Linked DNA regions of Homo sapiens: all the other regions are linked to region 1. The links are contacts of gene promoters, found by promoter capture Hi-C in blood cells and fetal thymus (Javierre and others, 2016). All regions are on one chromosome and are shown on one strand. The core of a region is centred on a gene start or on the middle of the fragment in contact, and the rest is flanking DNA. Distances in the headings are between cores, read along the strand shown.

Evidence for each region. Contacts are between HindIII fragments. The CHiCAGO score rates a contact against its expected background, and 5 or more counts as called.
Region 2: a contact is called between a fragment that was not itself captured here and the fragment with the promoter of HOXA1 in region 1, in 8 of 17 cell types (endothelial precursors, M2 macrophages, neutrophils and 5 more). The highest score is 10.0, in endothelial precursors.
Region 3: a fragment that was not itself captured here is called in contact with the fragment with the promoter of HOXA1 in region 1 in 2 of 17 cell types (endothelial precursors and megakaryocytes); the score reaches 10.5 in endothelial precursors.
Region 4: a contact is called between a fragment that was not itself captured here and the fragment with the promoter of HOXA1 in region 1, in 1 of 17 cell types (neutrophils). The highest score is 6.9, in neutrophils.
Region 5: a contact is called between a fragment that was not itself captured here and the fragment with the promoter of HOXA1 in region 1, in 1 of 17 cell types (neutrophils). The highest score is 5.4, in neutrophils.
Region 6: a contact is called between a fragment that was not itself captured here and the fragment with the promoter of HOXA1 in region 1, in 1 of 17 cell types (neutrophils). The highest score is 5.6, in neutrophils.
Region 7: a fragment that was not itself captured here is called in contact with the fragment with the promoter of HOXA1 in region 1 in 1 of 17 cell types (neutrophils); the score reaches 6.1 in neutrophils.

What each region holds. Positions count from the first base shown.
Region 1 is chr7:27,094,491-27,097,439 of GRCh38, reverse strand. HOXA1 (homeobox A1) reads left to right here and starts at 1,440. Exons shown (of 2, transcript NM_005522.5): 1 at 1,440-2,179; 2 at 2,645-2,949. The coding sequence starts at 1,528. HOTAIRM1 (HOXA transcript antisense RNA, myeloid-specific 1) reads right to left here and starts at 1,346. Exons shown (of 2, transcript NR_038367.1): 1 at 1,052-1,346. RefSeq lists enhancers at 478-1,050, 1,176-1,470, 2,352-2,852, 2,853-2,949 and a silencer at 954-1,123. The HindIII fragment of the contact is 6,567 bases long and covers 1-2,949 here.
Region 2 is chr7:26,676,828-26,679,776 of GRCh38, reverse strand. All of the region lies in intron 11 of SKAP2 (src kinase associated phosphoprotein 2), which reads left to right. Among named protein-coding and RNA genes, the nearest start is that of LINC02860, 40 kb to the right of the region's middle. The HindIII fragment of the contact is 4,779 bases long and covers 1-2,949 here.
Region 3 is chr7:26,697,752-26,700,700 of GRCh38, reverse strand. All of the region lies in intron 9 of SKAP2 (src kinase associated phosphoprotein 2), which reads left to right. Among named protein-coding and RNA genes, the nearest start is that of LINC02860, 61 kb to the right of the region's middle. The HindIII fragment of the contact is 905 bases long and covers 1,014-1,918 here.
Region 4 is chr7:26,720,309-26,723,257 of GRCh38, reverse strand. All of the region lies in intron 9 of SKAP2 (src kinase associated phosphoprotein 2), which reads left to right. Among named protein-coding and RNA genes, the nearest start is that of LINC02860, 84 kb to the right of the region's middle. The HindIII fragment of the contact is 2,767 bases long and covers 133-2,899 here.
Region 5 is chr7:26,738,319-26,741,267 of GRCh38, reverse strand. SKAP2 (src kinase associated phosphoprotein 2) reads left to right here. Exons shown (of 13, transcript NM_003930.5): 5 at 1,304-1,381; 6 at 2,390-2,473. Among named protein-coding and RNA genes, the nearest start is that of LINC02860, 100 kb to the right of the region's middle. The HindIII fragment of the contact is 4,131 bases long and covers 1-2,949 here.
Region 6 is chr7:26,820,251-26,823,199 of GRCh38, reverse strand. The region is part of intron 4 of SKAP2 (src kinase associated phosphoprotein 2); the gene reads left to right. All of the region lies in intron 2 of LOC124901606 (a long non-coding RNA gene), which reads right to left. Among named protein-coding and RNA genes, the nearest start is that of SKAP2, 43 kb to the left of the region's middle. The HindIII fragment of the contact is 2,662 bases long and covers 213-2,874 here.
Region 7 is chr7:26,837,484-26,840,432 of GRCh38, reverse strand. All of the region lies in intron 4 of SKAP2 (src kinase associated phosphoprotein 2), which reads left to right. The region is part of intron 2 of LOC124901606 (a long non-coding RNA gene); the gene reads right to left. Among named protein-coding and RNA genes, the nearest start is that of SKAP2, 26 kb to the left of the region's middle. The HindIII fragment of the contact is 2,972 bases long and covers 28-2,949 here.

The sequences.
Region 1 (2,949 bases), core at 191-2,690:
GTAGGGTGATGAGGAACAGGACCCCTGGCCTGGGATGAGGCTCAGATTTGCATGTGTCTCTCTAGGGAAGGACTTGAAGGTTCTCATAAGCAACTACACAGCCAGTTGGAAAGGGGAGGAGGTGTCGTTGGGGTAAAGTGTCCCGTCCACCATCAGCCATTTGTCCACCGCCCCTCCCACCTGCCAGCCCCCACACCCACTCTAGACGTGCAGCAGAATGAGGAAGGTTATAAAAGGAAGCTCTCTCTCTCTTCTAACATTCCCCTCCAGAAAAAGAGGAACGCAACGAAGGGAGTTCAGCTACTATGTTGGAGCTGTGGACCGGCCCTGTGAGGCCCACGCGGGAGCGCGGAGGCTCCTGGGTCTCAGGGCGCCGGCAGATGGCCTGCAGCGCACCGCCCGGCCCCCGCGCTGGCCACGTCCGCCAGCGTCATCTCTCTCCCCCGCCTCCTACCCCTAAAAATCCGGCGGTCGAGTAGCTCCGCATCCCGGAGGGCTCCCGGTGCAAAACTGAGTGGGAAAGAGAAAGGGGCGGAGAGCGACGAGAGAGGGAAGGTGGGGAAGAAGAGCCCGGCCGCCCCCGGCCTTTTCCGGCGAGCTCTGAGTTTCCAGGGCTCATCCGCCCCTCCAAGTCGAATTACAGAAACTCCTCATTGCCATGCTAATGACGAGAGGGGCTGTGGGGAGAGGGTTTCGAAGACCCTCCTGGAAGAAGGGAAGTTTCTTTTCTTGCCCTCGTCTCCTTCACGCCCACCCGAGTTCCTCCCAGCCAGCCCTCTGCGCTCTTCCCCCTCCATTCCGAGCTTGAAGAGCCGGTGGCCCAGCCTCGCCCTCCACCACGGTTCTATGCGCTCCTCACAGCCCCACGGTCTCCCAGCCCAGCCTCAGAACAGAGGAGGTGGCCTGGGAACCCGGGGCGCGGTGTCAGCCGGATTCCCCGCCTTCCGGCTGGGCGCGCTGCGGGCTGGGCCGGCGTACTTGCGGCCACCCGGCGAGCTCTGGCCCACTGATTCCCGCCCCGAGAGAGCCGGGAGCCCTCTTCCCTTCTCACCTCTCGCCAGTTCATCTTTCATTGAACGGTGGGGAGGGGGCGGGAGCGGGGGACGCCTCCCAGCCCCCACCTCCCGGAGGCCTGGCGGGGCGGGCAGCGGAGTCGGGCGCGCGCAGAACGCAGCTTTTGCTCTTCTTCGCTCCAGCACTCCAAATCGGCCTTTGCAGTCGCCGCAGCAGCTGCCGCCGCCTAGGCTGCCTGGGGGGGCGACTGCGCGTCACCTAGACGGCGGAGCGCCGGGGATTTAAATGCCACTAAAACGGTGATCCATCACTGCGGAAGCCGGCAAACTTTTGCAGGAGGCTCAGCCATTGGCTGACACCGTCACGTGCCCCTCCTCCAGCGTCCTCCGCCCTCCCGCCCCCCCTCTTGCGCACTGTACATTCATATCATTTTTCTTCTCCGGCCCCATGGAGGAAGTGAGAAAGTTGGCACAGTCACGCCGGGCTTCGCAGGACCAGGTCACTCAGTGACAGATGGACAATGCAAGAATGAACTCCTTCCTGGAATACCCCATACTTAGCAGTGGCGACTCGGGGACCTGCTCAGCCCGAGCCTACCCCTCGGACCATAGGATTACAACTTTCCAGTCGTGCGCGGTCAGCGCCAACAGTTGCGGCGGCGACGACCGCTTCCTAGTGGGCAGGGGGGTGCAGATCGGTTCGCCCCACCACCACCACCACCACCACCATCGCCACCCCCAGCCGGCTACCTACCAGACTTCCGGGAACCTGGGGGTGTCCTACTCCCACTCAAGTTGTGGTCCAAGCTATGGCTCACAGAACTTCAGTGCGCCTTACAGCCCCTACGCGTTAAATCAGGAAGCAGACGTAAGTGGTGGGTACCCCCAGTGCGCTCCCGCTGTTTACTCTGGAAATCTCTCATCTCCCATGGTCCAGCATCACCACCACCACCAGGGTTATGCTGGGGGCGCGGTGGGCTCGCCTCAATACATTCACCACTCATATGGACAGGAGCACCAGAGCCTGGCCCTGGCTACGTATAATAACTCCTTGTCCCCTCTCCACGCCAGCCACCAAGAAGCCTGTCGCTCCCCCGCATCGGAGACATCTTCTCCAGCGCAGACTTTTGACTGGATGAAAGTCAAAAGAAACCCTCCCAAAACAGGTCAGTCCTGCTGGTTGGTGGATGCTCCTTGATTATTCTGGAAGGAGCTGGTATGCTTAATTTCCAAGGAAATTAATAATGATCTTTTTTTTAAAAGGCTTTTGTATCAGACTAGTGTTGTAGTGCATGGAGAGGGTGCCCAGAGGTGTTGGGGCAAAGAAGTCTCAGGGATTGGTGTGTTTTCAAGGATTTTATACATTTGGGAAATAGGAAGTATGTGGGGGTGGTTATTGTGACGGTAGTGTTCTGTTAATATCTTGAGGCTCCATTAATCACCGGTCTGACCATGCTAATGGTTTACATCAGGTTAACACTTTACACCTCATCACTCACCCTCCACAGCCCGATTTGTGCTGAGTTCTTGATCTTTTCTTTACCTGAGTGTTGCCATGAAGCGTGTGGGGAATCTCAAGTCGATTTAAAAATTTTTACATTTCCGTCTCATGGCTTCCCACTTTGCCCCAGGGAAAGTTGGAGAGTACGGCTACCTGGGTCAACCCAACGCGGTGCGCACCAACTTCACTACCAAGCAGCTCACGGAACTGGAGAAGGAGTTCCACTTCAACAAGTACCTGACGCGCGCCCGCAGGGTGGAGATCGCTGCATCCCTGCAGCTCAACGAGACCCAAGTGAAGATCTGGTTCCAGAACCGCCGAATGAAGCAAAAGAAACGTGAGAAGGAGGGTCTCTTGCCCATCTCTCCGGCCACCCCGCCAGGAAACGACGAGAAGGCCGAGGAATCCTCAGAGAAGTCCAGCTCTTCGCCCTGC
Region 2 (2,949 bases), core at 275-2,774, 420 kb after region 1:
TTGGCTTCAAACCTATGTTAATAAATGAAATGAAAGTCTTGTTGAGCTTTATTGGCAGAGGGAAATAAGTTACTTTTTAGCTGTCTTAGTTTTTCATTTGTAACCGTATGACCCAGTATGCCACAAATAGCGTGGCCAACTGCTGCAGAGTAACTAGGATATCTGAATGTGGGACATGCATTGTTGACACTAAGCTAGCTCCAAAATGTTATATTTTATAGCCTTTTGATAAGAAGAAGTGTTTGTATTTGTGCTTGCATTTGTTTGCTCCGATGACATTTAGTTTGTATGCTGTCAGTATGGATGTATGGTCTAGAGTACACTGGAAGCATTAACCAGGCCAACCTCCTATTTAGTACCCATCTCCTCCTAGGAGTGAAAAGCAGTTTATGGACACAACACCATGTCAGAAAATGTTCTAGTTCTACTCATAGGACTCCTCTTGTTATCTGTTTGTGAACAATATGCTTAAGTACTTCCCTACTTTCTCTTACATAAATTGGAGGAAACATTCCAGAAAAATGTTGGCAGATGAAAGCAAAAGGTGCTTATAGGAGGCAGGCTGGCAGCTGCAGCCCTTGCAATGGCCTGACAGGTAGAGGAAAAGCCAGAAGGCAGTGTCAGAGAGGCAAGGTGAGCAGAGGTGGCAGTGGAGGGGGCTGCTTTGGAAAGGAGCCCACCTGTAAGGCCTATGTGATTTACTTCAGCATGAATAACTAAGAGTTTGGCAGCAGCAAAACAAAACCTTAAAGAAAAGCACTACGTTGATATTTTTTTTAATTCTCAGTTGAACAATTCATGATTTCAGCCTTGAAAATGAGGAACTCCCTCAGTGTGTATAGCATACTTTCACTCTTTTGAGATGTCTTCTTCCTCATCCCTTTAGAACATGGAGCTAGATATTCCAGGGAAATCATTAGGCATAGAGACTAGAGATAGACTACTGATTAAGAAAAGTTTTAGAGTCGATATTTAGTAAATTATAGATAAGTGACAGATGTTCATTGAGTATTCAGCTATCAAGGAACAACCAGCATGCCAGGTATTGTGGCTCACTCCTGTAATCCCAGCACTTTGGGAGGCCGAGGCAGGAGGATCACTTGAAGTCAGGAGTTCGAGACCAACCTGGCCAACATGGTGAAACCCCGTCTCTACTAAAAATAGAAAAATTACCTGGGCGTGGTGGTGCGCACCTGTAGTCCCAGCTACTTGGGAAGCTGAGGCAGGAGAATCACTTGAACCCGGGAAGTAGAGGTTGCAGTGAGCTGAGATTGTACCACTGCACTCCAGCCTGGTGACAGAGCATGACTCCATCTCAAAAAAAAAAAAAAAAAGAACAACCAGTTAAAATTGTAATAAAATGTTATATTCCTCAAATACTTGTTCTCTTTGGGAGAAGATAAGATTCTCTTTGGAAGAGCAGGGTGGAGACCTGCTCATAATAATCAGATTGCCTTATAGTGCGTCCCAAAGTACTCTGTTTTTTTGTTGTTGCCATAATACTTTGCTATACCAATTAGTGGGCAGGGAGTGGGGGAGGGAATGAAAAAGTGTTTATTGAGCATTTACAATGTCCTGTTCTAGGTACTTAATATGCTTTCACACATATAATTAATATAATAACCCTGTGAAGTAGATGATGTTATAATTTTACAGATTAGGAAACTGATGTGCAGTAAGGTTATTATGGAAATTATCTGAGGATACGCAGCTATTAAGTGCCTTCTCCAGGTATCAATACAGGTCTGACCCTAAAGCCTTTTCTCTTTCTACTTTGCTACGGTTAAGTGGGACTTGATTAGGACTTTAACTTTTCTTCTATATCAGAGGTTAATTGTAATTATCACATCCCAGTTCTAAACAACAGCGAACCATGTTATTGACAGTATCTTTTACATAATTAAATCTTGTATAGATGGTCAAAATTATTTCATTTTCTAATCAACAAATATTTGGTGAACACTCATGCAAAGTACTATTTTGAGCAGGATCCAGAAAAGCCACAAACTGTTATTCAAGGAGACTGCAATTAAGTCGAAGAGAAGACCAATGCATAAAATAGATAATAGCAATAAAACACAATGTAGGGTATCAGTGTTGTAGTCCTGGAGAATCCCAGAAGAAAGGGAAGTCAGTAAATACTGGAGTAAGTAAGTAATGAAAGATTCATAGGAAATGGAACTTGAACTGGAACTTTATGTATAAATGGAGTTTATTCATTTAACAAATATGAATGCTTATTTTCTGTGTCTATTACATATAAAACCTAGAAGAACGGCTGTGCTATGGAAAGGGGTGGATGGCTATATTGATGAAAGGGGAGCATAGAGCCAATAGACATCAGTCATTCAGGATCACTTCTTTTTTTTTTTTTTTTTTTTTATTGAGACAGAGTCTTGCTCTGTCACCCAGGCTGGGGTGCAGTGATGCAATTTCAGCTCACTGCAACCTCTGCCTCCCGGGTTCAAGCATTTCTCCTGCCTCAGCCTCCCAAGTAGCTGGGATTACAGGCTCCTGCCACCATGCCCGGCTAATTTTTTGTATTTTTAGTAGACATAGGGTTTCACCATGTTGGCCAGGCTGGTCTTGAACTCCTGACTTCAGGTGATCCTCCCGCCTCGGCCTCCCAAAGTGCTGGGATTACAGGCATGAGCCATCACTTCTCTTTCCTTACCTTGGAGAATGGTAGGCAGCCAGAGAAACCCTGTGAGAAACCAAATCAACCTGATGTTTCCAAGCTAGTTTTTCTACAGCAGCTTACACCACTTTTCCCTTATCTTCGCCTGTACCTTGTGTGTTAACCACACTCTCAACTACTTACTCTTCACTGAACACAGCACATTCTTTTATCTCTGCAGGCCTTCACGCCTGCCATGTATTGCTCCTTTCATTATTCCTTCTGGAGTCTCAGCCCAGCTGTCACTTTCTATGTAAAGTCTCTCAGATCCT
Region 3 (2,949 bases), core at 217-2,716, 400 kb after region 1:
TACGCCGGATGAAAGTGAAGAAGGCCAGACTAGGCTAGGCGGACTCTTCAGGATTGTGCCAAATTGAGGCATAGGGGCTTGTCTTTGTATTCCTGCATTAGCTATTCATTGGCTCCAAGCCATTCTCTGGGAGGCCCTATAACCTTGAGTGAAGCAATTCCCTGCAGTTGAGGGCAATTTCTAGTGAGAGACGCAGTTATGAACCAACTGCAGCTTGAGTCCCAGCAGTTGGGGATGGCTGTGTTGGTTCTGAAAAGCGTATCTGGTATCCCTTTTCAGATGAATTCTGAAAATTCTAGATAGTTAATGGGCTATAAAGAGGACTCCAGAAACTGCTAACATAGAGTATCAAAGAGAGTCTTTTATGTTAACTAGAAGATGAAACACTAATTACTGGAACCCAGTATGAGTTCCAGGAATTGGTGGACATATAACTGGACTTCAGTAAGACATGTGGTCAGGATTCTCATGAAATCTTTATAGATATAGAGACCACCAGATAACTGACTCTACAGCTGTGTCCAAAGAGTGCTAATTAATTGATTTTATGAATACCTTAGGGCTTTATTTTCAATATTATCATATCCAACCTATTCATCATTGTTTTGGATACAGGCTTGCTCTCAATAGAACAAAATCATGGGTCAAATCCAACAAGATGAAATATGATAGAATATTCCACTTGCTCCAAAAATCTAGTTGCACAAGTACAAGAAAGGAAAGACTTGGCTTCACAGAAAATGGGAAAAACACATACGGACTTTGGTCAATAGCTCAATATGAGTCAACAGTTTAATGTGATTCAATCCTGAGATTGTGTGCTTTGGGAACATAAAATAATTATCAAATAGTGTTCTAGGTTAGCAGGATATCATTTTTTTTCATGTGGTGGATGAACAATGTTTAGATATTTAACTAAAACTACCCTAGAAAGTACAGGGTAGCCATTCTTAAACTTATTGATCTCAGGATCCCTTTACAATCTTAAAAATTATCAAGGACCCTTAAAAGCTTTTGTTTATGTTTTGAATTTTTTTCTAGAAAGTAAAGTATTTCATCTCAATGTAGATTTTTTTGGTTTGTTTTAAATTTTATTAGATTAAAAAATACTATCTAATGATAAATAGGTTGGTAAATAGTTAAATCTCAATATTTACCCTATTGGAAATTAAAACAGATCTTTAAAGAATGTTGATTTATTAATGAATTTAAAAGTCATGATGATAAACCTGTTACATCTGTACATAACCTATTTTTAGGAAAAATAACTATATTTCCCCCTAAAATTAGAAGAATATGGCATTGTTTACATTTTTACAGCTTTCTTGAATGTCTGTCTTGGTAGAAGACAATAGAGTTTCATATCTGCTTCTACATTCAGTTTATTGTGATATATTGTTTAAGTACAGTTAACTTATAAAGAAAATCCACCTCATACAGATATGTAGGAAGGAAAAGGGAGGTACTTTACTTGCAGGTAATTGTAGGTATTCTTTTTTGATATTGTACCCAGACGCGACAAGTAGTAGTTAAAAGCTGGTACAATGTGGAATCTGAAACCATACCAATGAACTTTTCATACTCTTTTACATTAAAATTCATAGGCCTGTCTTGCACTTTGTTGAATGGATCTTTTACCCATGCTTGATTTTGTAACATGCTTTGGTCAGTTGGAAAATACTAGTTCATTACATTATGCAGAACCTACAAATATTGACACAACTATGACACAACCTAAGAAAAACCCACATTTTGTTTATATCACCATCCATCTCATTGGAAAAGTCTTTAAATAGTGGGGAGCTGTCAAGCTAACAGTGGCAGATACAAGTTTCTAAAATCCTAATTTTTGCTTGAAAGCTCAAATTTTATCATTGGCAATAAATACCGTCAGTTGTTTCCCTTGAAATGACAAGCTTATTTCATTTACTTTTGAGAAAATGTCTGCCAGATTCCCAAGTCTAAATAACCAGTTTGTCAGTCATTCAAGTAAAAATGGTGTTCCATGAATAAAAAAATGGCTAATTCAGCTCAACACTCAGATTCTTACGCATCTGGTGGTGTAGCAGAAATGCTTTATACATTCTTCTGATTTTGTCACATAGAATATTAAAGTTACGTACTCAAGGTTGATATTAGGTGAAAATAATTATTACTGCTTCATCAAGGACATTCTTTAGTGCAACTGACTTCTTTCATTTTTTTACTTTTATGCCAGTGCAGGGCAGTCTAAGTTGATTTATGCTAAGGTGTCAGCAGTTTTACCCATCATTGCTCTGCAACATCAGTGCAAATGTTAACATAGTGAAAAAGACACATAATGTCTTAGTATTATTATGAAAATAGCTTTGACCCCACAGACCCTCCACCCTGCAAACAGATCTTGGAAAGCACTGCTGGTATAAGGGATGTGGAGCCAGTAAGTCTAATGGTGATGGTTCTTTCTATGAAACTGTGCTTTTTCTTTCTTGGGCTCTTGAAAATGAGGTTAAGATGCACTGCATATGATGAGAAAGGGTATATTTGCATAGGCAAGCAGAGGAAACAGAGCAAAAGCCTATAACAAATGAGCTCTGCATCCATATATCAGCTGTTTTTCCAGAGGTTATAGTAGGCAGTTGTAGACCCTGATAAGACAGCCACATTACAATCAAATAATCATAACATCAGCCTATTTGTCACTAGATAGTATTTTTTAATCTAATAAAATTTAAAGCAAGCCAAAAAAATCTAAATTGAGTTGATGTATTTTACTTTCTAAAAAAGGATTCAAAACAGTTTACAATGAAATGCATATATACTTTTGGGATAAGAAATGTATGGGGACAATGAATACATATGCATTTGGGGTATTTTATTTAAAATAAGAATTAAGAAAAACCAGTAGCTGAATAAAGGTAGCCTAGAAGAAGGTGTTAATAGTGGTTATGCTTGGATCATGGATGATTT
Region 4 (2,949 bases), core at 267-2,766, 370 kb after region 1:
GAGGGGATTTTTCTAGTAAAGGCCCTAAAGGTGTCTCAGAGTTAGAGGTTTTGTTTGATTAAATGTCTGAAACTAGGAAGGTAACTTTTTTAATTAAAACAATTGTCTCTCTTTCAGGACAAGAATTAAGCTTATTGCTTTCACTTCTGTGAAATTTGAATATAATTTTGATAGAGGAGTTAGAACAATGGAAGAGCAGTAAGCACATTTACATACTGTTGATATTTTTCCAGTTCTGTGCAAAGAACTATGTATCTCTGATATCTGACTGGCTAAATTCCCAGAATTAAATAATACTACAATTTCAACACAATTTTCTGTCAATTATGCATTGTTGAAAACTAATCCTCTTAGTTGAAAGATGAGGTATACAAATGTATTTGAAGAGAAATCTAAGCATTTATTATGCTACTTTAAATCACAAAGCTCTTTTTCTGAGAAACGAAAGCTCTTACTCTAATAAGTGTATTTTTTAAAAACTATGAAATAAACCTGCAGTGTTTTGAGTTTCAAGAGTAAGAAGAAAACGTGGTTTTAAAAATTGCAATGGGCTGGGCGCAGTGGCTCACGCCTGTAATCCTAGCACTTTGGGAGGCCGAGTTAGGTGGATCACTTGAGGTCAGGAGTTCGAAGCGAGCCTGGCCAACATGGTGAAACCCCGTCTCTACTAAAAATAAAAAAATAAAAATAAATAAAAAATTAGCCGGGCATGGTGGCAGGTGCCTGTAATCCAAGCTATTCAGGAGGCTGAGGCAGGAGAATCACTTGAATCCGGGAGGCGGAGGCTGCAGTGAGCCAAGATTGAGGCACTACACTCCAGCCTGGGCAACAGAGTGAGACTGTGTCTCAAAAAAAAAAAAAAAAAAAAAAAATTGCATTGCATAATATCCCTTGAAAAATGTTTATAATTCTACAGGAATCTAAATTGTTTCATTGTAATTGTTTTTCAGTTAGAATATTCTAACTTCATTACAGTACCTTCTGTTTAATTTCTTGTTCATTTATTTTTAACTAACTTCGTAAAGGAATAGGAATAAATTTGTAAGACTTCTTTGTGTTTAAGGGATTTATACATATGTACAAAAGAGTTGCGAGAATGCCATTTCTGGGGAGTATTAAAGGTATTTGGCTTTTCTTCAAATATCCTAATCCTTTTACATCTTTTATGTCTTATTGCTTATTAGCATAGGCCAGTCAGGTTTGTTTACATTGTAATAATACTATAGCATATTTGTGTTTGTGCAGCTAATATATTGATCAAAATGTGTTAAACTGTTTAACATGGTAATGAGTTCATTTGGCTCAGCACAGGTTTGTAAATTTATTGCTCACTTTTTCATTAGAAATACAGAGGAGTGTCTTTGTCTCATTTTGAATCTCAAAAGGGGAAAATAATACTCGTGAAATTGCTGCAGAAACCAACCCTGTTTGCTCTTCTCTTCTATTCACTATGTCACTTGATTTTTTTTCTTTAATGGCAGGAAATTGTACAGAAACAACAACAACAAAAAGATTTTTCTAGATCTAAACTGAATAGAATCAGCCTAGTAATGAGAATGGTAACCATCCATTAACTTATTAAATCTGTAGCTTTCAGAGGGATTGCACTTGAAATGTCTTCTGGCAAGTGGACTGGAGGAGAGAGGGCAACATAAAACAGGAAGACAAATTTCTATTCCATTAACCTATTTTTTTTAAGTGTGAATTCATTTTTTTTTAAATTACAATGACAGATTGAACTATTCTGAGTCAGAAAAGGATATTTTTATCCTTTGGCCATTCAATTACATTTTAAATGTATTCAGTCCAACTATCTGCATCTAAAATAGAACATAAAGTAAAATGCAGCTATAATTTTTTTCCATGAGACTATTATATATACATAAAAAAGAACAGTGTTTGGGTACTTTAATTTGAAGTAGTTTACAGCAAATGGACACAAATGCTAATTTAGTCAATAAGTGGTTATAGGCCCCCAAAATACATTTTGGCTTTATTTTCCTCCTGAATAATTATCACTCATATTACTAAGTTAATATCAGGGTTACAGGGGACCCTGCAGTCTGTGGTATTAACATTGTTTTAAGTGATAGTAGATCCTGACTTCACCAAACAATTTTTCTCCTTTCTTCTTTGGAATGCAATGGAAAGATGTCAATTAATTTTCATAGAACCACATATATTCAGTATTTTAATATTGTTAGTCTAGGCAGCCTGCTAACATTATTTTTTCTTAAACTAGGTACTGAATGGTGAAGTTATCAATGTGGTGATATTGTGGGAATAGTTTTTCCCAAGTAGATAACTAGATTAGGGTTGAATTTTTGGATGGTGATATGGTTTGGCTGTGTCCCCACCCAAATTTCATCTTGAATTGTAGTACCCATAAAATCCCCATGTGTCCTGGGAGGGACCAGGTGGAGATAATTGAATGATGGGGGCAGTGTCCCCTATCCAGTTCTCGTGATAGTGAGTGAGTTCTCATGAGATCTGATGGTTTTATAAGGGGCTCACCCCTTTGCTGGGCACTCATTCTTCTCGATGCTGCCATGTGAAGAAGGACATGTTTGCTTCCCCTTCCGCCATGATTGTAAGTTTCCTCAGGCCTCCCTAACCATGCTAAACTGTGAGTCAATTAAACCTCTTTCCTTTATAAATTTGCCAGTCTTGGGTATGTCTTTATTAGCAGAGTCAGAACAGACTAATACAGATGGTTTCAGCTCTAAAATCTGCTTAGAGGGTTATCCGAAGTTATAAAAAAAAATGAAATCATTCATAAAATAGGGTCACTACACACATATAATATTTATTATTTTTATCTTTGCTGAATATAAATGTGTCTTTGCTGAATATTTGTTCATAGTATTCTTTATGTTGTTTCATAATATAGTATGAAGCTTTGGAATACAGTTCTGCCTGTCTTGTAGCTTTTCTCTATGTTGCCATTGG
Region 5 (2,949 bases), core at 194-2,693, 360 kb after region 1:
TGGGATTGTAGGCATGAGCCATTGCACCCGGCCACTTAGTTATTTTTAAATGTACAATAAATTATTGTTGACTATAGTCACTCTGTTGTGCTATCAAATACTAGATCTTATTCATTCTAATTACATGTTTGTACTCAAACACATTTTCTATCCTAAGTTGTACTGAAACTATTTCCACTGGATGTATTCCATACAAACTTTCTTTTGATTGGTTGTTTTCACTTGCTAGAGTTCTAGTAAAATGCTGAGGATAACTATTATATTTCTTTTCTTTTCTGTTTTCGTTTTTTTCTCTTTTTTTTCCCAGGCTGGATTGCAATGGCGTGATCTTGGCTCACTGCAACCTCTGCCTCCTGGGTTCGAGTGATTCTCCTGCGTCAGCTCCCAAGTAGCTGGGATTACAGGCACCCGCCACCATGCCTGGCTAATTTCTTTTGTAGTTTTAGTAGAGACCAGGTTTCACTGTGTTGGCCAGGCTGGTCTCGAACTCCTGTCCTCAAGTGATCCACCCGCCTCGGCCTCCAAAAGTGCTGGGATTACAAGCGTGAGCCACTGCGCCCGGCAGATAACTATTATATTTCTAATGAAGTTTATAAAAATATTGAACACTTGTAAAATTGAGTAACCTATAATCCATGACCGTGAATATACAATTTCTAATCAACTTAACTTTTGCTTGATTTAAAAACTTTTTTTAGGGATCCAGTATTTGTTTATAATAGTTTTATCAGATCTGTCTAGTTTTAGACTCTTAAATGCCCTATAAAAACCTAAAGCATACTCACTCAGTGGAATGTCCATAACATTTCTCTGAATACAAACACAGAGAATATTTGCTGTGGGCTCAGAGAAACAAGTTTCAGCATTTGATTCGGAAAAGCATTTTATGTTTTACTTGGTAGGAATAGGGATTATGCAGGAAAGAGTCAATATGTATTGAAATTTTTAAAGAGTTAATTCAATATAAATATAACGAAGCTATGATTTATTTGAAATTCTTAACCTCTCTTTCAGGGATTTATTGCATTTATTTATAATAGTTTCTCAGTCCTGTATTTTGGGAGGCTATAATAACATATAGGAGTACAGAACTTTTTTTTTTTTTTTTTTTTTTTTACTTTTGAGACTTTTAGGAGGAATAGAGGGGATTAATCTAGGGAATGGATCTGAAACAAAGCTAATAGACTTAGATTTAAACAATTTCAGTAATTAAAAGCACACTGAATCTAATGAGATCTGGCACTTGTTTATTCTGAAATGGATTACCCACTGCTTTTTTTTTTCTCTCCCCAACTTCTCATAGGAGCCCAGTTTCCTCCAATTGCAGCACAAGACCTTCCTTTTGTTCTAAAGGCTGGCTACCTTGAAAAACGCAGAAAAGGTAAACTGAAGGTTCTAATGAAAAATGTAAAAATAATTTCATCCTTAGATAGAACATGTTTGTAGTATACATGTGGAGGCAGTATTCGTTTTAGGTGATTAAAGAGTTTAAAGATTGTAAGAAAATCTGGATGACATTATCCAAACCACAAAATATAGCTCTTAGCTTTAAATAATTTTTAATAAGAAAACATTAGGTTAGGTTTTTAGTTGTCAACCTTGGTTATTTGTAAATGATTCAGGAGCTGTTTCCTGCCTCTCAAAGGAAAGCTGCAGGCCATGACTGTATTCTCAAAGGTGGGATTTCTCACCAGTATCTCAATGGGCTGAGCAGCAGGTTCTCCTATGCCCAAACTGGCATGCACCATGGTTCAGATCAAGCCTGGAGTTTTGTCTGCCATTGTCTATTATTCATTTCAGTGTTCCTCTCCATTGGCTATGATAATTGGGAGTTGACCATATGGTCTCACTCTTTCAACACCAATATTTAATGGAAATGAAATATGGAGGTGGTTTTATAATATGAGAAATGAAAAGCAGACAGTCTTTTCATTACCATTCTGCTTATCTCTCTTGTAGTCCCTTTAGGCCTTTCTATTTATATTTCATTTTGCTTTTCTTAGCTTTCTTAGCTGAATTTTAAAACTGAAAGAGATAACAGAAATAATCTAGGTTAGCTCCTCCCCTTCTTTTTATAACAGATGAGAAAATGAGACCCAGATGGATCAATTATCTCAAGACTGTATAGTCAGATACCTTTTTGACTGTCCCTGTCAGAAAACTTTGTTAGCCATGCTGTTGATCCCATAAGTATGGCAGCCCCATAGCTACTTTACTTTATTCCCTTTAGCTGTGTTGGTTTGTTGTTGTTTGGTTTTTTGTCTCTTGGAAAAGAAGATACAAATTAGTCACACAATGTTAGAGCTCAGAGGAATCTTAGAAATCATATTAATTAACTTTTTCTTTTACAGTAAGGAAATGGCCTTACATTTTCCCCTCTTTATTGCAGATCACAGCTTTCTGGGATTTGAATGGCAGAAACGGTGGTGTGCTCTCAGTAAAACGGTATTCTATTATTATGGAAGTGATAAAGGTAATGTTGGTGTTCAATTATATCAACTACTATTGCAAAAGAATTTTTGGCCATCCCTTCCCCCTCTTTTGAGTACAGAGTAAACTGAAGACAAACTAATAATAACTGAGAATTATAACAATTATAATCTGACTAATTTATGATTCATTTCATTATTTGACAAATGCTCCAAATACCAGAATACCCTCAGAGCTAAAACAATTGTGTTGTATTGAATTAGAAAAGAGAGTAAAATAACTTTAATCTGTGTGGCCTTTCACCTTAGGGAATATTTATTATCCAGCCTACTGTTGTAGAATTTCTGGAAAAGTTAAGAACATAGGGTTGTGAGAGTTTCAATGGCAGAAAATAGATTATTTTTCTTAAATATTTTAAAATAAAATTAGATAAAATTAAATACGAACAGCACCTTTCTGAGCTCCCTTTACAGATTTAAGGAATAACAGCAAACGTGTACATAGAATTTACTATATACT
Region 6 (2,949 bases), core at 294-2,793, 270 kb after region 1:
CCTGCCTCGGCCTTCCAAAGTGCTGGGATTACAGGCGTGAGCCACCACACCTGGCCAGGCTATTTTGCTTTCTTATCATTTGTGTGTTCACTGGAGTAGCACTTTTGTTTTCCTTCAAGGACTTTTCATTTGCATTCACAACTTGGCTGTTTGGCACAAGAGGCCTTCCTTTTGGCCTATCTCGACTTTCTACGTGCCTTCCTCCCTAAGCTTAATCATTTCTACCTTTTGTACCTTTTGATTTACAGTGAGAGATGTGGAACTCTTTCTTTCACTTGAACACTTAGAGCCTTTGTTGGGTAATTTTTTTTTTTTTTGAGACGGAGTCTCGCTGTGTCGCCCAGGCTGGAGTGCAGTGGTGCATTCTCGGCTCACTGCAAGCCCCGCCTCCTGGGTTCACGCCATTCTCCTGCCTCAGCCTCCCTAGTAGCTGGGACTGCAGGCGCCCGCCACCACGCCTGGCTAATTTTTTTTTTTTTTGTATTTTTAGTAGAGACGGGGTTTCACCGTGTTAGCCAGGATGGTCTCGATCTCCTGACCTCGTGATCCACCCGCCTTGGCCTCCCAAAGTGCTGGGATTACAGGCTTGAGCCACCACGCCCAGCCCATTGTAGGGTTATTAATTGGCTTAATTTCAGTGTTGTTATGTTTCAGGGAATAAGGAAGCCCAAGGAGAGGCAGAGAGATAGGGGAAGGTTGAGTTGTGGAGCAGTCAGAGGACATACATTTATTATTAAAGTTTGCTGTCTTATATGAGTGCAGATCATAGTGCCCCAAAACAATTAGATGGCAACATCAAAGATCACTGATTATAGATCACCATAACAGATATAATAATAATGAAAAAATTTGAAATATTGTAAGAATTACCAAAATGTGACACAGAGATACAAAGTGAGCATGTGCAATTGAAAAAATGGTGCTGATAGACTTGTTCCACAAGGGTTGTCACAAACCTGCAATTTGTAAAAAATGCAGTATCTGTAAAGTGCATTAAAGCAAAGCACAGTAATATGAGGTATGTTTGTATAAATACAGATGGGTAATTGAAGACCAAATGACATATCTGTTACGTTTACTACTTTGGCTCATCAGTTGTCATACTTAACAGAGGTGATAATGGATGAAGCTATCACCACAGAAATAAAGAATAAAGATTGGATTTGGCAAATAAAATACTTACATTAATAATTATTATTAATTATCTGACAAATGCTAATGTATCAGATTAAGCAGGCAGAGATAAGAGTTGTAAGGAATGGATCAAATGACAAATAAATTTTAGTTTGTTATGGGAGGGAGCTGGAAGTGTAGAAGAAAGGAAGGGCTTGGTATACTTCTGGGGAACTCAGGCCTGGGAAGAACCGGAGTGTAGGATCAACTTGATGGGTGGGACAAAGGGGAGTAAATAGCCAGGGGTAGAACCAATGGTAGACTTCATGATTATGCTTAACGTGAATCTTGATACTTAGATTCTTTTCTCAGGGAGGTGATATTATCTATAAAGAAAGTGGAAAGGCAGATAAGAAAGATCAAGTTTGTTGAGCTTGAAGGAGTATTGAGAATCCAGTCAAAGATATTTAAGAGGGAGTCTGAGATATGGAATAGAGATGTGGCAAATCATTGATTTATTCGCCTAAACATGTTTAATATCATGAGAAAGAGAAGACTTTCCAGAGACAGTAGAATGAGATAGATGAGAAGATTTAGAATAGAGACATTTTCTCCAACTTTCCTCACAGGTAAACCAGGAGAATTGCTGCTTTTGTTTCTAAACCTGTGATTCTATTTTACAGAATTTTAGAAGCCATTAATTACTTTCATTCCTTAGTATGATTATAGTCCTGGTGATACATTTTATCTTGGTCATTTTCTTTGGCGTTCATTTGAATGTTGATGTGATCTTAGGCTTTTTTTCCTCCCTCTTTGTTTTATCTAATTATTTTTCTCCATGTAATTCAGGCATCATGTTATGTTACTATGTCTTGTCCTGGCAACTTATATAATATTAAGCAATATTCAAGGCAGATCAGATGTACTTTTAGTATCTGCATACTAAATTTTCAAGGACTTTAAAAAAGATAAACTCTTATGTTTCATCATGTCATGAGTAAATAGTACTGTTGTCGTCAAATGCACAGATTATTGTATCCTATATACCTGGGTTTAATCCTGGTTTGACACTCTGACTTTGAACAAATTATTTTCTGTTTAAGCCTTAGTTTCTTAATTTGTAAAATTAGGGATAATTAATAGTATTTCAAAAGATTGTAGTAGGGATAGGTACATAGGACATGCCAATGTTAGCTCTTGGTTACTGTAATGTCACAAGATGACCAAGGGATGGAATAATTGACTTGATTTTAGTACATATTTTCTTTGGAATTTTTATCCATGTTTGAACATAAGTAGTTTAATTTGTGTTGGACAATATTTTATTTAATCATATCATATTGTGAGTAGCTAAAAGATAACTGATTATTTTTATGATTTAATATTCAACTTTTTGCTAATAAATATGGCAGGCATTTTTACGTGGTGGTTCATAAATGTCATGACCTGTGTGTTGACCTATGTTAAATTTCTGTGATCTTTTTTATTTGGGTGAATCGTATTTAGCTTCCTGTCTGTTAGATAGTAGGAAAGTAATGAAACAATAGCATATGAGAATTTGATCAAAATGAACCTTAATCCTGAGAAGCATTAACTGGATTATTTTGTTAGAAATATGCCAATGGATTTAAAATGTAGATAATCTTGAAATTTCAAATGATTTCATTCTTTGGTTGGTTGTTTACCTACTTGATGACCAAAAAAGCCAAGATATGTAGTTACTGTCACATTAAATTCAGAAAATATTTTATAAATAAAGCTTCATTTTAAATGTACTAGGAGGTAACTTTTGAGAAAACTTATTAGTAGATACTGTTTTACAAGTGGAAGGATTAT
Region 7 (2,949 bases), core at 264-2,763, 260 kb after region 1:
CATTTTTGTCATTTGTGAAAGAAAGCTTCTAACTATATAGCACTATGGAAAGTCTCTAAGGTAAGGTGAAAGGATTCAGTGAGCTAGAAGACATATATTGGCTCTGCCCCTCGACGATAGGTCGAAGGATCCCAGTAGATGTATGTTACAAATCTGATTCAGTCCTAGACCATAATCACTTTGTGGATAAAAATCTGAAACCTCTAGGGTGTGAATACAGGAAGGCTAAAATGAAGCTGAAAATATAGAACAGTCATTTATTGTCCTGGTGTCTTTCTAACTAAAAATTTCTGAATAACCTAGGTTACTGAAAGGCTGTGGGCATTGCGAGACACAGGTTTGTGTGAAGAAATTTTTTTTTAGGAATGGAACTATTTTTTAAATCTCAGGGATTAAGAAAAAGGCTGAACTATTATCATAATTTATAATATTAAAAATTTTTTTTGGTATACTTTTCTTTACAAAAATCCAATGTACAAAAATTTGGATTAATAAAGCATGTAAATCATTTTTTCCAACAGATTTCTTTAGAGAGATTGTCTCCAGGATGCCTATAAATAATTAGCTCTTAGAAAGTGTCTAAAACAGGCTTAGATATAAACCTGTCCGTGTGCACAACATAAATTTAATGTACCAAATTTTTGAGGAAGACTTTTTTTGTGTAAAATTAGGTGTAGCACTAATCAGTTCTTACAAAAGCCACGAAATAGATGTTTTACTTTTCTCTCATATCAGTAGAGTATGAAACAATGTTTAAAACTGGAAAAAAAGGTTTTTTTCAATAACTTAGCATTTAGGATAACTATGAAACAATGTTTAAAACTAGAAAAAAAATTTTTCAATAACTTAGCATTTAGGGTGTTTTTAACCCACTATCATATTTTTGACACCTAAAATTATCTTTTGTATTTTGTTCTAAAAAATTCAATTAATTTGCAATTTGCACATATTTTTGCATATATAACATGTATCAACATTTCACTTTTGTTTTTAAAATTTTTGGGTTGTCTTAATATGCCAAATTGCTAGCTTATATATGTTTTAGCAGTTTAATAACAATGATTATTTTAGTCATTGTGCTATGTGTATAGCACAGTTTCAAGTATTTTGGTGGAAGAGAAGGGATTATAGTTGAGGAAATGACAGAAAGTAGAGGACATATTTTTAATCCTCAAGGTATATATTGTGCAATTGGGGATATAAAGTACACAGATGTAAAATATTTTTGTGATACAAAGGTATATATTAGTAAATAAAACACATAGCCATTGAGAATTATCTTTCTAAGTTTTTATGCTATTGATCAGGAAAATTCATCAGAATAAAACAGAGTGGACGGATGATACTATAACAAAGTGGACTAGATACGAAAGACTGCAAAGGTTAAGTAAAACTCAACATTATGAAAAATAATGCATCTTTAATTCAGCAAATTAGCAGTTATTTACACAGTACATGAAGAGGAGAACAAGATACTTGGACAGGGCAATTGGGGGTGAATAAGATAAAGTTCCTATTTTTAAGAAAAATGTAATCTAGATGGCAGGAGAAGATAATCACCTAGAATAAGGTAACTAGCAATCTAGGTTATATTAAACCAGATTCCAAAAATAATAAATACTACGTGCTACAATATTCAATTGATTTAGTCTATACCAAGGCAAGTAGTTGGTTTCATTGATTTTACTTCCTGATGTATTGGCTGAATCAGCCATATGTTTTAGCATCCTGTCAAAAAAACCACAGCATAAACTTTATGCCTAAATTCTAAGAGATTGTGGAGGGAGGGCCTTTTATTTAAGTGAGTTTTATGTGGGTCTTGAGGTTTGTTGCAGAGAATGGGAAAACAAACTGAAAAGAACTTTTGGAGTTCAAGCTCAGAAACCAGGTTTTCATTATAATTGATGATAACTTTTTTGTCAAGGACAAGTTGCTTAGGCCTTTTTGGATTTTTATTTTCTGGTATGTGAAATGAAGAGTTTGAACCGGGTAATTGCTTAGACGTTCCCTAGAGCACTAAATGCTTGTGTCCCCACATTTCAGAATTAGTAAATTGAATGGTGGCAGTGAGGTGAGGTGATCTGCATGGGGAAGATATGGGTGACGACCAGAGGTGGTATTGAATAGGAAGGAGTGGAGGGGGTCTTGGAGGTAGGTGCATGATTTATAGTAGGAGCTGAATGCCAAATTAAGGAATTTACCTTTGATTTGGTAGTCATTAAGAGATCCCTGAAGGAGTATACTGAAGTGAGGGATGCAGATTTGAGGGATATTGTCCTGGAAGTTAAATGTAGGTTAAATGAAGGCGTAGAGACCATCTAGTGGAGGTAGCAAGCTAAATGCTTTGCTACATTACTTATTTTTAATCATGACAGTATCTCTATGAAGTAGAGTACTATCACTATTTGACAAATGAGGAAACCTAAAATAGAGAGGTTAAGTGATATGCCCAATGGCATATAGCTACATAGTGGCAGAACTGGAATTTGAATTCATGTCTGTCAACTGTAAGGATTATGCTCTGCTCTTAAAAGAGTTACTTTTTCCCTCTTCCCCAGCTAGCATACTGCTCTGCTGCTTTTGATTAAGGGAGTGTTGATAAGACTCTGGGCTAGAGAGGTGGATATTGTACTGAAAAGGAAGTGATTTTCTAGCCCTTTCCTACTCAAAGTATGGTCAGTAGACCAACAGTATCAGCATCATCTGGGAGCTTGTTAGAAACGCTAAATCTGTCTCCACCTAATATAGTTTGGATATTTATCTCCGCCCAAATCACATGTTGAATTGTAATTCCCAGTGCTGGAGGTGGGGCCTGTTGGGGGGTGTTTGGATCATGGGGCAAATCCCTCATGGCCTCGTGCTATCTTCGTGACAGTGAGTTCTTGTGAAATCTGGTCATTTAAAAGTATGTGGCACCTCCCAACCCCACTCTCTGTCTCTTGTTCTTTT